Regions from separate parts of the Homo sapiens genome. Here region 1 is linked to region 2. The links are contacts of gene promoters, found by promoter capture Hi-C in human tissues and cell types (Jung and others, 2019). All regions are on one chromosome and are shown on one strand. The core of a region is centred on a gene start or on the middle of the fragment in contact, and the rest is flanking DNA. Distances in the headings are between cores, read along the strand shown. Region 1 overlaps CPT1A (carnitine palmitoyltransferase 1A). Region 2 holds the start of MRPL21 (mitochondrial ribosomal protein L21).

Region 1 (6,869 bases), core at 610-3,109, 110 kb after region 2:
ATGGTTTAATGAGTCCCCCAACGAATCATTCCAGTGAGCCACTGGAAAAGAGGAAGTCAAACGAAGCAATTCGCACAGAAAACACATTCAGCATTTCCATGTGGTCTTAACTTGCTTGCTGCTTGCTGCTTTTGTTTTCTTTTTTTTTTTTTTTTTGAGACAGAGTCTCGCTCTGTTGCCGAGGCTGGAGTGTAGTGGCACGATCTCAGCTCACTGCAGGCTCTGCCTCCCGGGTTCATGCCATTCTCCTGCCTCAACCTCCCAAGTAGCTGGGACTACAGGCACCCGACACCATGCCCGGCTAATTTTTTTGTATTTTTAGTAGAGACGGGGTTTCACTGTGTTAGCCAGGATGGTCTCCATCTACTGACCTCGTGATCCGCCCGCCTCAGCCTCCCAAAGTGTTGGGATTACAGGCGTGAGCCACCGCACCCGGCCAACTTGCTGCTTTTCTTCTGTGGGATTTTCGTTGTTGGTTTGAAATATATTTTTGTTACAGATTCGTCTTTTGGGATCCACGATTCCACTCTGCTCCGCTCAGTGGGAGCGGATGTTTAATACTTCCCGGATCCCAGGAGAGGAGACAGGTGAGTCAAGCTTCTTCAGGGCCCCCTGGAGAATCGGCACTTTCCATCCCTATGCTCAGAATTAGGAAGTGTCAAAGGGGCCAAATTGATTTTTGCTGACCCTTCCTGAGATTGTAGGCTGGTGAACATTCCTTCTGCTGAATTTCCTTTGTCTGTCTTAGGCCTGGACACTGTTGTTGACTTATTTCCAGATTTTAATTTCTCTTTGGTTGAAGACTGCCAACTGTCTCATAGAGTGTTTGATTTATTTATTTATTTATTTATTTTGACATGAGGTCTCTCTCTGCCACCCAGGCTGGAGTGCAGTGACATGATCACGGCTCACTTCAGCCTCCACCTCCTGAGCTCAAGGAATCCTCCCATCTTAGCCTCCCCAGTAGCTGAGACCACAGGCACATGCATCATGCCTGGCTAATTTTTGCATTTTTTATAGAGATGAGGTTTTGCCGTGTTGCCCAGGCTGATCTCAAACTCCTGGACTCAAGTGATCCGCCCGCTTCGGCCTCCCGAAGTGCTGGGATTACAGGCGTGAGTCACACACAGCTGAGTGTTTTTTTCCTGAGTCTGGATTCCTCAGGGGCATTTTACTCCGGCTCACAGTCAGCGTTTGTGATGGAACGCACACTGGGTCGTGCTCGGAAAGGTGGATTTGTGTTCCAGCCACTCCTTTATCAGCTGCCTGACCTGGGCAGGGTGGCCACGTAAGCCACCGTCCAAACCAGGACGTCCTTGAGAATGACAGGGAGGGAGAACAGGCACCGTGGGGAACATCCAGGCCAGGCCCAGGCCCAGGCTGTGCTGTCCATGGCCTCCATTTCCCCAGGTGCCTGTGGATGGGGAACTACCCAGAGACACTTGGTGAGCTAGAGCCCAAGACCATCATGGCAGGCCTGTATGACGGGCGGGCCTCGGGGCTGCTTGGGAAGCTGGCTGGAAAGGGCCAGAGCTGACCTGCAATTTTATTTATTTATTTTTTTTTAGAGGGAGTCTCGCTCTGTTGCCCAGGCTGGAGTGCAGTGGCGCGATCTCGGCTCACTGCAACCTCCACCTCCCGAGTTCACGCCATTCTCCTGCCTCAGCCTCCCGAGTAGCTGGGACTATAGGTGTCTGCCACCACGCCCGGCTAATTTTTTATATTTTTAGTAGAGACGGAGTTTCACCGTGTTAGCCAGGATGGTCTCATCTCCTGACCTCGTGATCGTCCCACCTCGGCCTTCCAAAGTGCTGGAATTACAGATGTGAGCCACCATGCCTGGCCTGACCTGCAGTTTTGAGTGTCTTGTTGCAGCCCGGTCCTTCCAGACCAAGCCCTAGTCAATATTCCAGACCAAGCCCTAGTCAGTAGTGTGCACTGTGGTGGTCATTGGGGAGCCTTTGCTGTATCCTTGCACAAAAGCTGGCCTCTGAGTGGGCTTTCCTAAGCAGATTCTCCCCTTTCCTCTGATCCTGCCTTCAGAGGTTCTCTAAAAACCCATTCTGGCCAGGCGCGGTGGCTCACGCCTGTAATCCCAGCATTTTGGGAGGCCGAAGTGGGCAGATCACCTGAGGTCAGGAGTTCAAGACCAGCCTACTACTGGTCTACAAAACCCCATCTCTACTAAAAATACAAAATTAGCCAGGTATGGTGGTGGGCACCCGTAATCCCAGCTACTTGGGAGGCTAAGGCAGACGAATCACTTGAACATGGGAGGTGGAGGTTGCAGTGAACTGAGATTGTGCCACTGCACTCCAGCCCGGGCAACAAGAGTGAAACTTCATCTCAAAAAAACAAAAAAGAACCCACTCCATGTGTGTTCACGGATTTCACAGTGTTTCTGGCTAAACCCCTCCTCTCTTCCTGCCACACACTGTCGTCCATTGTACTGTAGCTCAACATGTGAAAAACAGATGTGTTGGCCAACAGCAGTCCTGGGGCAGTTGGGCAACGAGGTGGAGGAAAGTGAAGTTGGTTCTCTCCATCCTCTCACAGTGTCTCCCTGATTGGAGGGGCAGTTGCCCCTTCACTGACCAGGGCAGGCAGTGTCCCCAAAGGGAAGTGGGTCAGGGTGTCCTGGGGAGGCTGTCACCTGCTGTCAGTCAGCACCGTGGTATGGGGACATCCTTAAGATCATTTAAGTTTGAGACATGCGGCCTACACTGACAGTGATTCCAGGAGGTAAATATGTATGTGTTTAAAAAAATAAACAAGGGAGGCCAGGCACAAAGGCTCATTCCTGTAATCCCAGCACTTTGGGAGGCCAAGGCAGGTGGATCACCTGAGGTCAGGAGTTCGACACCAGCCTGGCCAACATGGTGAAACCCCATCTCTACTGAAAATACAAAAATTAGCCAGGTGTGGTGGTGCATACCTGTAATCCCGGCTACTCAGGAGGCAGAGGTAGGAGGATTGCTTGAACCTGGGAGGTGGAGGTTGCAGTGAGCCAAGATCATGCCACTGCACTCCAGCTTGAGTGACAGAGTGAGACTCCATCTCAAAAAAATATGTATATGAAATAAAAATAAAATAAATCAATAAACAAGGGAAATGCTGGGATAAAACCTAGTTACTTAGTGTACCTGGACAGCCATTCTGAGCATGATACCTGAGTCAGTTTCCTGGGGCTGCTGGAATAAATGACCACAAACTGGATGTCTTAAGACAAAAGAAGTTTCTTCTGCCACAGCTCTGGAGGCCAGAGTCCGAGATCAAGGTGTCAGCAGGGCCGTGCTCTTTTCAAAGGCTCTGGGGGAGGCCTTTATGCCTCTTCCAGCTTCTGGGGGGGTCCAGGTGCTCCTTGGCTTGTAGGCATATCACTCTGATCTCTGCCTCCATGTCACCTTGGCTCTCACCTCTGTGTGTGTGTGTCTCTCTTACAAGGACAACAGTCATTGGATTTGGGGTCCACCCTAGTCCAGTATGACCTCATCTTAATATTGAATTATATCAGCAAAGACCCTATTTCCAGGCCAGATGTGGTGGCTCATGCCTGTAATCCCAGCACATTGGGAGGCTGAGGTGGGTGGATCACCTGAGCCCAGGAGTTTGAGAGCAGCCTGGGCAACATGGCAAAACCCCATCTCTACAAAAAATACAAAAATTAGTCGGACATAGTGGTGTGTACCTGTGGTCCCAGCTACTCAGGAGGCTGAGGAGGGAGGATCACTTGAGCCTGGGAGGTGGAGACTGTAGTGAGCTGAGCTGTGATCACACCACTGCACTTAGCCTGGGTGACAGAATGAGACCCTGTCTCAAAAAAAGAAAAAAAAGACCCTACTTCCGATTAAGAAATAAGGTTTTCACAGGTACCAGGGCTAGAACATGGACATATCTTTTGGGTAGAAACAGCTCAACTCATTACAACAACGGAAAAATCCAAATATTGTCATGTAAAGATTTTAGTTTTCTATATTTCAAAAATACTTCAAACTGTTTTAAAAGGTAGATAACAAATTGAGGGTAAGTGCTCACAACAGAGAACAGGGTTAATATGTAAAGAGTTCTTATAAATCTGCCAGAAAACCATGAAGATCCTAATTGGAAAGGAAATGATGGGCACCCCTGGAAGGAGAAATGTTTAAGGAGTTATAGAAAAGCATTCAACATCACTGGGAATGAAAGAAATGTAAATACAAAGCCTGGGAGTGGTGGCTCACGCCTGTAATCCCAGCACTTTGGGAGGCCGAGGCGGGTGGATCACTTGAGGTCAGGAGTTCGAGACCATCCTGGCCAACATGGTGAAACCCCACCTCTACTAAAAGAAACCCACAAAAATTAACCAGGCGTGATAGCAGATGTCTGTAATCCCTGCTACTCAGGAGGCTGAGGCAGGAGAATCACTTGAACCTGGGAGGAGGAGCTTGCAGTAAGCTGAGATCGCACCACTGCACTCCAGCCTGGGTGACAGAGCAAGACCCTGTCAAAAAAAAAAAATAAAGAAAGGTAAATGTATATGAGCACGTGCAATGCCATTCGTTGGTGATCATCGGGCAAAGCCCCACCCACTTTCTCAGACATCCCCACCGGAGGATCCCATCAGTCACAATCCTCACTAATTAGACCATTCAAATTCCCCAAAATAAAAAAAGGGAAAGAGGTATAGACTTATCTTAAGGGTCTTAAGTTCTGGCATTTTTCTATTTAATAATATATATTGCTATAAAATGGAATTACTACCAAAATTTAGAAAATCTTTTAGCAGAAGATACAGCCCTAATCTTACCACTCCAGTACAATCATTATTGACATTTATGATGTACTTCGTTATAGTATCAAAACAATTCCAGTATGTGAACGCTTTTCTTTCTTTCCTGTTTTCCTTTCTAAGTGACGCTCAGTGAATTCTGTGTATGTTTCTCCCCTGCATGCATTGGTCAAACAGTCTGTAGAGCAGGCACCTAGAATTGGCTTGCCGGCTGCCCTGGTTGACATTTCCAGTCTTACTGGCATGGACAAATTACCCTCAAAGTGATTTTACCAACTTTCACGTCCCCAGCAATCTATAAAATACCCTTTTCCCTTCATTTTTGCCAAAAGGGTTAGCAACTTTTAAAATGTTAACTGGACATTTGGGTTTCTTCTGTTGAGAATATTGTTCTTATATTTTGTATATTTTTTAAAAATGGATGTGTATCTTTTCCTTATTGATTTGTAGAAAGTATTTATATATTCCAGACATTCTGCTTTTTTTTTTTTTTTTTTTTTTTTACTTTTGTTTGTTTGTTTGTTTTTGTTTTTTTGAAACTGAGTCTCACTCTGTTGCCGAGGCTGGAGTGCAGTGGTGCAATCTTGGCTCACTGCAAACCGCACCTTCCAGTTTCAAGCGATTGTCCTGCCTCAGCCTCCCTAGTAGCTGGGATTACAGGCATGCACCACCACACCCAGCTTACTTTTGTATTTTTAATAGAGACGGGGTTTTGCCATGTTGGCCAGGCTGATCTCAAACTCTTGGCCTCAAGTGATCCGCCCGCCTCGGCCTCCCAAAGTGCTGGGATTACAGGCATGAGCCACTGTGCCTGGCCCCTTTTTTGTTTTTTAGGCGATTTTAATAAAATGTCATACTTTTCTCCATGAAGTCCTTGCAGCACATCATTTGTTCGAGCTGTTTCTAAGCACTTTTATTGTTTTGTTCCTTTTCAAGAATATTTTCAAGGTGTTGGTTATGCAGCGTGTAAGTTTGCCCAGGCCACCATAACAAATACCACAGACTGCACGGCTTAAGCAAGACAGCGATTTTCTCACAATTCTGCAGGCTGGAACTCCAACATCAAGGTGTTGGCAGAGGTGGTTCCTTCTGTAGGCCCCTCTCCTTGGATAACCATCTCTTCCCTGTGTCCTTACGTGGTCATCCCTCTGTGCGTGTCCTAAAGTCTCCCTTTTTTTTTTTTTTTTTTTTGAGACTGAGTCTCATTCTGTCACCCAGGCTGGAATGCAGTGCACAATCTCGGCTCACTGCAACCTCCACCTCCTGGGTTCAAGTGATTCTCCTGCTCCAGACTCCCAAGTAGCTGGGACTACAGGTGTCCGCCACCACGCCTGGCTAATTTTTGTAATTTTTTAGTAGAGACGAGTTTTCACCATGTAGGCCAGGCTGGCCTCGAACTCCTGACCTCAGGCGATCTGCCCACCTCGGCCTCCCAAAGTGCTGGGATTATAGACGTGAGCCACCGCACCCAACCCTAAACTCCTCTTCTTAAAAGGACACAGTCACATAGGATTAGGGCCCACCCTAATGACCTCATTAAAGACCCCATCTCCAAATGAGGCCACATTCTGAGGTGCTGGGGGTTAGGATTTCAATATATGAATGGGGGGACACAGTTCAGCCTGTGCCCTGGGGTATAGGAACATGAAAGGTTTTTATAAACTGTGTTTCTACCCAGCTGTATTCTTTTTTTTTTTTTTTTGAGACAGAGTCTTGCTGTCGCCCAGGCTGGAGTGCAGTGGCAGGATCTCAGCTTACTGCAACCTCTGCCTCCCGGGTTCAAGCTTCTCCTGCCTCAGCATCCTGAGTAGCTGGGACTACAGGCACATGCCACCATGCCCGGCTAATTTTTTGTATTTTTAGTAGAGATGGGGTTTCACCATATTAGCTAGGATGGTCTTGATCTCCTGACCTCGTGATCCGCCTTCCTCGGCCTCCCAAAGTGCTGGGTTTACAGGTGTGAGTCACTGCACCCAGCCACTACCCAGCTGTATTCTTATTGGCTTAAACAGCTGATAGGTTTTCTTGGATTTTCCACATGCTAATCATAGCTGCAAATGACACCTTTGATATTTCCCTTTCAATCCTTTATCTTTTACTT
Region 2 (7,128 bases), core at 285-2,784:
AGGCTCAGAGACAGAACCTGCAAAGTCACACAGCCATAAATGAAACAGCTGGGATTCTAAGAAACTCAACATAACTGCAAAAGCTCTCCATTGCCATGATCAAAAGCATCTCAGACAAATCCTACCCACATATGGCTGACTGCAAACTCTGGAAGCAGACTGCCTGACAGCAAATCGGGCTACACTGTGTCACCCCGGGGCAAGTTACTTAACCCCTCTCTGTCTCCATCTCCTTAGACGGAAAATGACAGTAACAGAAACCTACACTGCGGCCGGGCACGGTGGCTCACGCCTGTAATCCCAACACTTTGGGAGGCCAAGGCGGGCAGACCACGAGGTCAGGAGATCGAGACCATCCTGGCCAACATGGTGAAACCCTGTCTCTACTAAAAATACAAAAAATTAGCAGGACGTGGTGGCGCGCCTGTAGTCCCAGCCACTCAGGAGGCTGAGGCAGGAGAATCGCTTGAACCCGGGAGATGGAAGCTGCAGTAAGCCGAGATCGTGCCACTGCACTCCAGCCTGGGCGACAGAGAGAGACTCTGTCTAAAAAAAAAAAAAAGAAAAAGAAAAAAAAGAAACTTACACTGTAGGGTTGGCATGGGATGAGGTGTAAAAGAATTAACGCATGGAAAGTACGTAAGTGTTAGCTCTGATTGTTTTGGACAAGTAAATAGTCCCATTCGGAAACAAGCCCGGCTCTCACATGGCTCCCCACACCTCTCAGGACGGCTCCCCACCCTACTCCGCACCCACCAGCTTAACTCCAATTTTCCTTCAGGCACCACTCCCTCCTTGAAGCCACCATGACCCTCCCCAGGGAAGGGCCTTCCTCCTCCAGGCTCTTTCCCCGCGACACGCACGCAGCCGGCCCTGGACGCACTGGAGGGGAAGGGACTCTCTGCTTATGCCCAGCCCGCCGCTGGCCGGATCGGGGGCAGCCAGTGCACCTGACTCATGCTGCCGGGGCCTGACTGAGAATGGGCGCAAACCATGTTTACTGAATGAATAAGGGAAAGGGCTGCTAACTCGCTGCGGGTGGAACTGGGGTCGGGGCCAGGGCCCAGGAGTGTAAGCTTAGTGGGGGGTCTCGGGTCGGGAAATCAAAGTGCTTCTTAAGGGTCCCCAAACGGAACGCGCTGCCCAGGAAGTGATGAGACTGACAACTCGGGAGGTGGCCAAGCAGGGGACGGACGATCCCTGCCCCTGACTCGAAGGGTCGGAGACGAAATTCCCGCCCCAGACTATGAGGCCGAGCCCCTCGGAGACTCTGCCCGGGACACGGCGGGACCGACCGCGAGGGAGCGGCGCCGGCGGCCTCCCGTACCTGCGCTCCTCCACCTCCGCGTCTCTCTCAAGCTCCAGCAGGTCCAGTTGCTTGGTCACGAAGCTCTCCACAGCTGCCGAGGCCATCGCCGCCGCCGGCCTGGGCCCCTAGAAGCCGACGTCCCGCTTCTGCGCCGGGCCGGTGTTACAGCGGACCGGTGTTCCCCGCCGGGCCCGTGCGTTACGCACGCGGTTCGCGTCGTTTCCGTTTCCGGCCGAGGCTGCGGCCATGGCAGCATCTTCCCTGACGGTCACCTTAGGGCGGCTGGCGTCCGCGTGCAGCCACAGCATCCTGAGACCTTCGGGGCCCGGAGCAGGTGAGACCTGGGATATGGGAGGAAGGGAGGACGCAGAGCGAGCGCTGCTCCCTGCGGTCTCGCCACGTATGTGCCTGGGTCCGACCTGGTGCCTTGTGTGTTGATCGCATTTGTGGTGAATATAGCACGGGTTTTGGAGTCGGGGGAACCCAGGTTCAGATTTTGATTCCTTCAGTTAGTAGCCTGAATACTGACAATAGCCCTTGAACTTTGGTATAGGCCCTATGTTATGGGGGAGAAGAGTGAGGCTCAGAGGAGCTAGGTAACGTGCCCAGGGTCACACAGCGGGGAAGTGGAAGAAGAGTACTTCAGGCGCAGTCATTTCGGCTCCAAAGCCTGTGCTTGAACCACTGCCCCCAGGCTGCGAGCTGGTCTGAAAAATGGTGATGGATATCCTCGCCTAATCTGAACTCATTCTGCAAAAGAAACAGCCGTATTTAAGGCGCTGGGCTGATACGAGGCTCCAAAAAGGTTATGTCCGTTAAAAACTCTATAAATCTCTGCTTGAAAATGGTTGGAGTGTGTATTTGTGTGCATGAGTGTTTATGTATGTTTTAAACCTGGGTTTCATGTCTCACCATGACCCCCAAAAATGGAAAACTGGATCTAACTCTATATTGGACGATATTAAAAGAATAGTACCATAATTCCCAAAACTTGGAAGCAACCCAGATGTCCTTCAGGAGATGAATGGTTACATAAACTGTAGGACATCCATACAGTAGAATATTATGCAGCAATAAAAAGAAATGAGTCATGAAGAGACATGGAGGAAACTTACATACATGTTACTAAGTAAAAGAAGCCAACCTGAAAAGGGGACATCTTGTATGTTTCCCACTATGACATTCTGGAAAAGGCAAATCTAAGGAGACAGTAAAAAGTTACATGGGGGGTAAGAGGATTGGGGGAGAAAAGGATAAATAGGTGGAGCTCAGAGGATTTTTAGGGCAGTGAAACTATTCTGTATGATATAATGGTAGATACATGTCATTATAAGTTTGTCCAAATCCATAGAATGTACACTACCAAGGGTGAACCCCTAATGTAGACTATGGACTTTGGATAACAATGATGTGTCAATGTAGGTTCATCAATTGTAAAGATTGTACCACTCTGGTGAGGGATGTTGATAGGAAGCTGTGGGCACATGGACAGGGGACATATGGGAACTCTCTGTACCTTCCACTCAATTTTGGTGTGAAACTAAAACTGTGCTAAAAAATAAAGTCTATTAAGAAATTAATAATAATCACAGAGTTGGGCCAGAGGCAATGTAGATGCCAAAATTGGCCATGAGTTGGTAACTGTTGAACCTGGAAAGGGATAATTGAGAGAGTTCACTATTCTGTTCTCTTTACTTTTGTATGCTTGACATTTTCCATAATAAAACTTAGGTTTAAGTAGGCAGGAAAGTTTTTACAAAAGCAGTGGGACTTACTCCATTCTACCTACCTACATGAAACCACCCCTCCAATGCTATGTTCAAGTACAGACTCACGCATTAGGAGAGAAAGACACACAGTGAAGCGAGTAGAGACAAGGTGACCAAAACAGTGAGCAGCTGGGGCCTTGAAGAGTGAGCAAAGGAGACGTGATGGAAGTACACAGTCACAGTCTCTAGGACTACCTAAAGGAAATCCTGTGGGAGAGGAAGGAGACTGTTTGTTCCCTGGGGACCCAAAAACAAAGCTAGAAGCAAATTAGGTACAGAAGCCTGCTAAGTTTTTAATAGTGGGATGGATTTGCCAATGGGTTGACTGAGTAGTGTGCGAGAGAAGAGTCAAAACTGATGGAGGTTTGGGGCCTGAGCAACTGGGAGGATGAAGTTGCCCTCATGTGAGAGGGAGGAGTGTGGGAGAAGCAGGCATGGGAAGAAATGAGGAGCCTCTGGAGGTGTGAGGTGCTCGTCAGACACGAGTGGCTAAGGCAGATAGATAGGTGGGTATGCAAAACCAGGAGAGAAGCCCTGGCTGGAGGTGTAAACTTGGGAGTCACCAGCACATTGGGGGTGTTTAAATCCATCGGACTGGATGCAGTCACCAGAGGAATGGCCATGGGCGGAGAGGAGGTCAAGGCCAAGGGTTGAGCCCCGGATGCCCAAATGGGAGAGGAGAGGAGAAAGCAGCCGAGGAGATGCAAATGGGGAGCTGGTGCTAATGGGTGAACTTTAAAAAGGTGGTTTTTATGGTGTGTAAATTATAGCTGAGTTTCTTTAAAAGTGGTTATTGAGAAACTGTTCTCTGCTTTTTACACCTAAGCACTTATTTTGATCCCCTGTCTTCTCAGTAGATTGAATGTCTTTGTTTCCTGGTGTATTCCTGGTGTATGCGTTATCTACGGTTACATCAGAAATTACCCCAAAACTTAGCAGCTTAAAACATTTATTAACTCACACCAGTTCTGAGAGCCAGGAACACAGAAGCAGCTTAAGTGGCTGGTTCTGGCTCAGGGTCTTAGCTTGCAGCAAGCAAGTCTGCAGGGGCTGTAGTTATCTCAAGACTCCACTGCGCCAGCGGCTGGAGAATCTACCTGCAAGGTCGTTCCCATGGGTGTTGGCGATAGGCCTAGTTCCCCGCCATGTGGACCTCTAGGTAGGGCTGCTCACAGCAGGGCAGCCCTAAGGCCAGAGATCAGAAAGGGTGAGCACAGGCATCCAAGATGGAAGTCCCAGTTGGTTATCACCTCATCCCAGAAGCCACGTGCTAGCATGTCTGTCACTAGCTGTTGGACACACAGGCCACTCCCAGGGGGCTAACAGGGGTAAGAATAGCAGGAGGCGGGGCCCAGCAGGGCCATCTTGGAGGCTGCTCCCACGCTTGGGCACAGATCAGAGTCTGAACCTACCAGGCACTTAGTCAAGGCATGAGTTAGTGGACGGGTGGTTCTGGTCTCAGGCGCTTGTAGATGATGTGGCTAACTGATCTCAACACATATAACCAGTAGCTGTAAGTGACGTTCTTGTAGTTTTGCTCACCTAGGTGTTTCTGTGGGCAGGCTGTCATGCAGTGGTTCATACCATGTACCAGGAGCAGCAGCTGTGCATTTAGCATCATAAAGGGCAGTTTGCATTTGTAGTATTAATGGTAATGATCTGTGTTTCTCTTCTTCCCTCAGCCTCCCTTTGGTCTGCTTCTCGAAGGTTCAATTCACAGAGCACTTCATATCTACCAGGGTAATATCAAAATGTGGGTTTTGGTGCCTCTTTTCCTTTCATTTGTAGAACCATCTTTCTAAAGTCAAAACTTCCTACCTTTTGGTTCTCAATAATATTTAAATTTCCTCTTTTGTTTTTAAGAGACAGAGTTTCACTATGTTTCCCAGACTGGTTTTGAACTCCTGGCCTAAAGTGGTCCTCCCGCCTCAGCCTCCTGAGTAGCTGGGATTACAGGCATGCACCACCACTTTCAGCTTTAACTTTTTTGACGGTATTTTTCTGAGACCCTTAAAAGAAGACGTAACTGCAAGAGACCAAAGAGAAATTCTGTATGTGTTTGCTCTCTTTTATTATGGAGGAGCTTGAAGTCTTAACTCAAGATTTCTGATGAGGAAGTTTGTATCAGAGTCTCTAAGAGAAACTCATTATTTGAAAAAGCACATTCAGTGTTAAAATTTTATACTTGAGAAAACATTTTTAGGTATCATAAACTGCAGAAAACATTCGACAAAGTTCCACTCACTGGTGGGAGACACAGGAGCAGTGCAGGGATAGCAGTTACTGTAGGGACCCCCCCGGGGTGCAGTTCCGGCTGCCCCTCACAGCCTGGGACGCCAGGCTTCTGCAAGATGGAAGTAATGTTCATTTCTATCTGCATGGGTGTTGGAGAGGATTAAGTAAATGTATACATTTAAAGCTCTTAGAACAGTGCCTGGCATACAGTCAGCACTCACAAAACATTGGCTGCTGGAACTGCTGCTGGGACTCCAGGGATCCTCTGCAGTGGGGAGATGTGGGAGTCTTTCTTGCTTCTCAAAGAAGCGGCAAAACATTCTGAGCATAGGAAGAAGTTGTAAGTGAGCATGTGGGTAGGTTGTGCCTACTACCCCTGTGTCCTGTGTGAGAGGTTAGCACCTTCCTGCCAGCGTGTTCTTCTCACACTGGGCACTGCTGAACCCGTATGGGGAGACTAGACATCAAACAGGTCAAAGACGTTTTGTAGAGAGCAGCACCTTCCTTGTCCTCCTTGTCTCTCAAGGTCATTGACCAACCACAGATCACGGAGTTCATGTCTCTAGGAGCTCCAAGCCCTACCCCACTGGGAAAGCATTCATTCCTCTCCCAGATTGGTGTGGAGCCCCTCCTGCGCGCCAGCCAACAGGACGGGTGGGCCTGGTCTTTGGTGTGGAGGCCGGTGCATTTTGCATATGGAGCAAGTCGTTTTCTTCCTCCTAATGCAACCCTGGAGTAGAAAGACTGAAATTTTACTTTGCAGTGGCAGCAGCAATAAAAGCTTAAAAACGGTTCTGAATAATTCGGTTTGGGATCTACCTACCCTCCCTCTTTGTAGACTACAGAAAGAAAGACCCCACCTCCTTTTGAATCTAGGCCCCCCTCTTTCTTTCCTCCCTTCCTCTCCCCTCCACCTACCTGAGGCTGAGCAGGCAGGGGAGAGTTAGGAAATGAAGAAGATCTTGGGCTGGGCACGGTGGCTCATGCCTGTAATCCCAGAATTTTGGGAGGCCGAGGTGGGCGGATCACTTGAGGCCAGGAGTTCGAGACCAGCCTGGCCAATGTGGCGAAACCCCATCTCTACTAAAAATACAAAAATTAGCCAGATGTGGTGGCATGTGCCTGTAATCCCAGCTACTAAGGTGACTGAGGCAGGAGAATCGCTGGAACCCTGGAGGCAGAGGTTGCAGTGAGCTGAGATCATGCCACCGCACTCTAGCCTGGGTGACAGAGCGAGACTCCGTCTCAAAAAAAAAAGGCATTGCCCGCACCAAGCTTGGCATCCTGAGGGTGGGGAGGGGAAGTGGCTGGGGACCGCAGTGCTATAGCTGCTGAGACTGAGCACTCCTAACACCCGACCCTCACTGGCCATGCTGGGACCGGCTGTGAACAGTAGCCATCTAATACCTAACACAGCCCTTTCAGGCGGGTGCTTGTTTTCCCATTTGCTCAGTTGTAGACACCAGGACACAGAATTGTCTGGGGTTCCGAGCCAGTTCTGCCTGGCACTCACCTGGGTGTGAAGGAAGAGCAGGCACCTACCTAGGAGGAGGTGGAGGTGGAGCAGGGAACGTCATGGTCCTGTTTGAGCAGGATGTGGTGAAGGGTCATTGGAGCTGCCATTCCAGGGCCACTGGATGCCAAGGGAGGCGGGAGAGCTGCTGGCCCTGTGTCCTGGGTTGTGGGGAAAGTAGAGGCAGCCTGTGCCTCCAAGATAAATGTGCCCCAAGACACCACAAGCCCAGCCTTCTTGGATGGGCACCCTTCCAGCACTGAGAAGTACCCAAGTGAGGGCTCTTTTGCAGAACAATGAGA

What was found. The method cuts DNA at HindIII sites, captures the fragments that hold promoters and counts their contacts. A contact is called where the count stands out against the background at its distance.
Region 1: a contact is called between a fragment that was not itself captured here and the fragment with the promoter of MRPL21 in region 2, in 2 of the 25 tissues and cell types used here (IMR-90 fibroblasts and aorta).

The regions. Positions count from the first base shown.
Region 1 is chr11:68,787,033-68,793,901 of GRCh38, reverse strand. It overlaps CPT1A (carnitine palmitoyltransferase 1A), which reads left to right. Exons shown (of 19, transcript NM_001876.4): 9 at 500-587. Among named protein-coding and RNA genes, the nearest start is that of TESMIN, 39 kb to the right of the region's middle. The HindIII fragment of the contact is 3,433 bases long and covers 143-3,575 here.
Region 2 is chr11:68,898,238-68,905,365 of GRCh38, reverse strand. It overlaps MRPL21 (mitochondrial ribosomal protein L21), which reads left to right and starts at 1,534. Exons shown (of 7, transcript NM_181514.2): 1 at 1,534-1,643; 2 at 4,761-4,818. The coding sequence starts at 1,556. IGHMBP2 (immunoglobulin mu DNA binding protein 2) reads right to left here and starts at 1,475. Exons shown (of 15, transcript NM_002180.3): 1 at 1,328-1,475. The coding sequence starts at 1,413. RefSeq lists enhancers at 993-1,052, 1,383-1,502, 934-1,661. The HindIII fragment of the contact is 6,843 bases long and covers 1-6,341 here.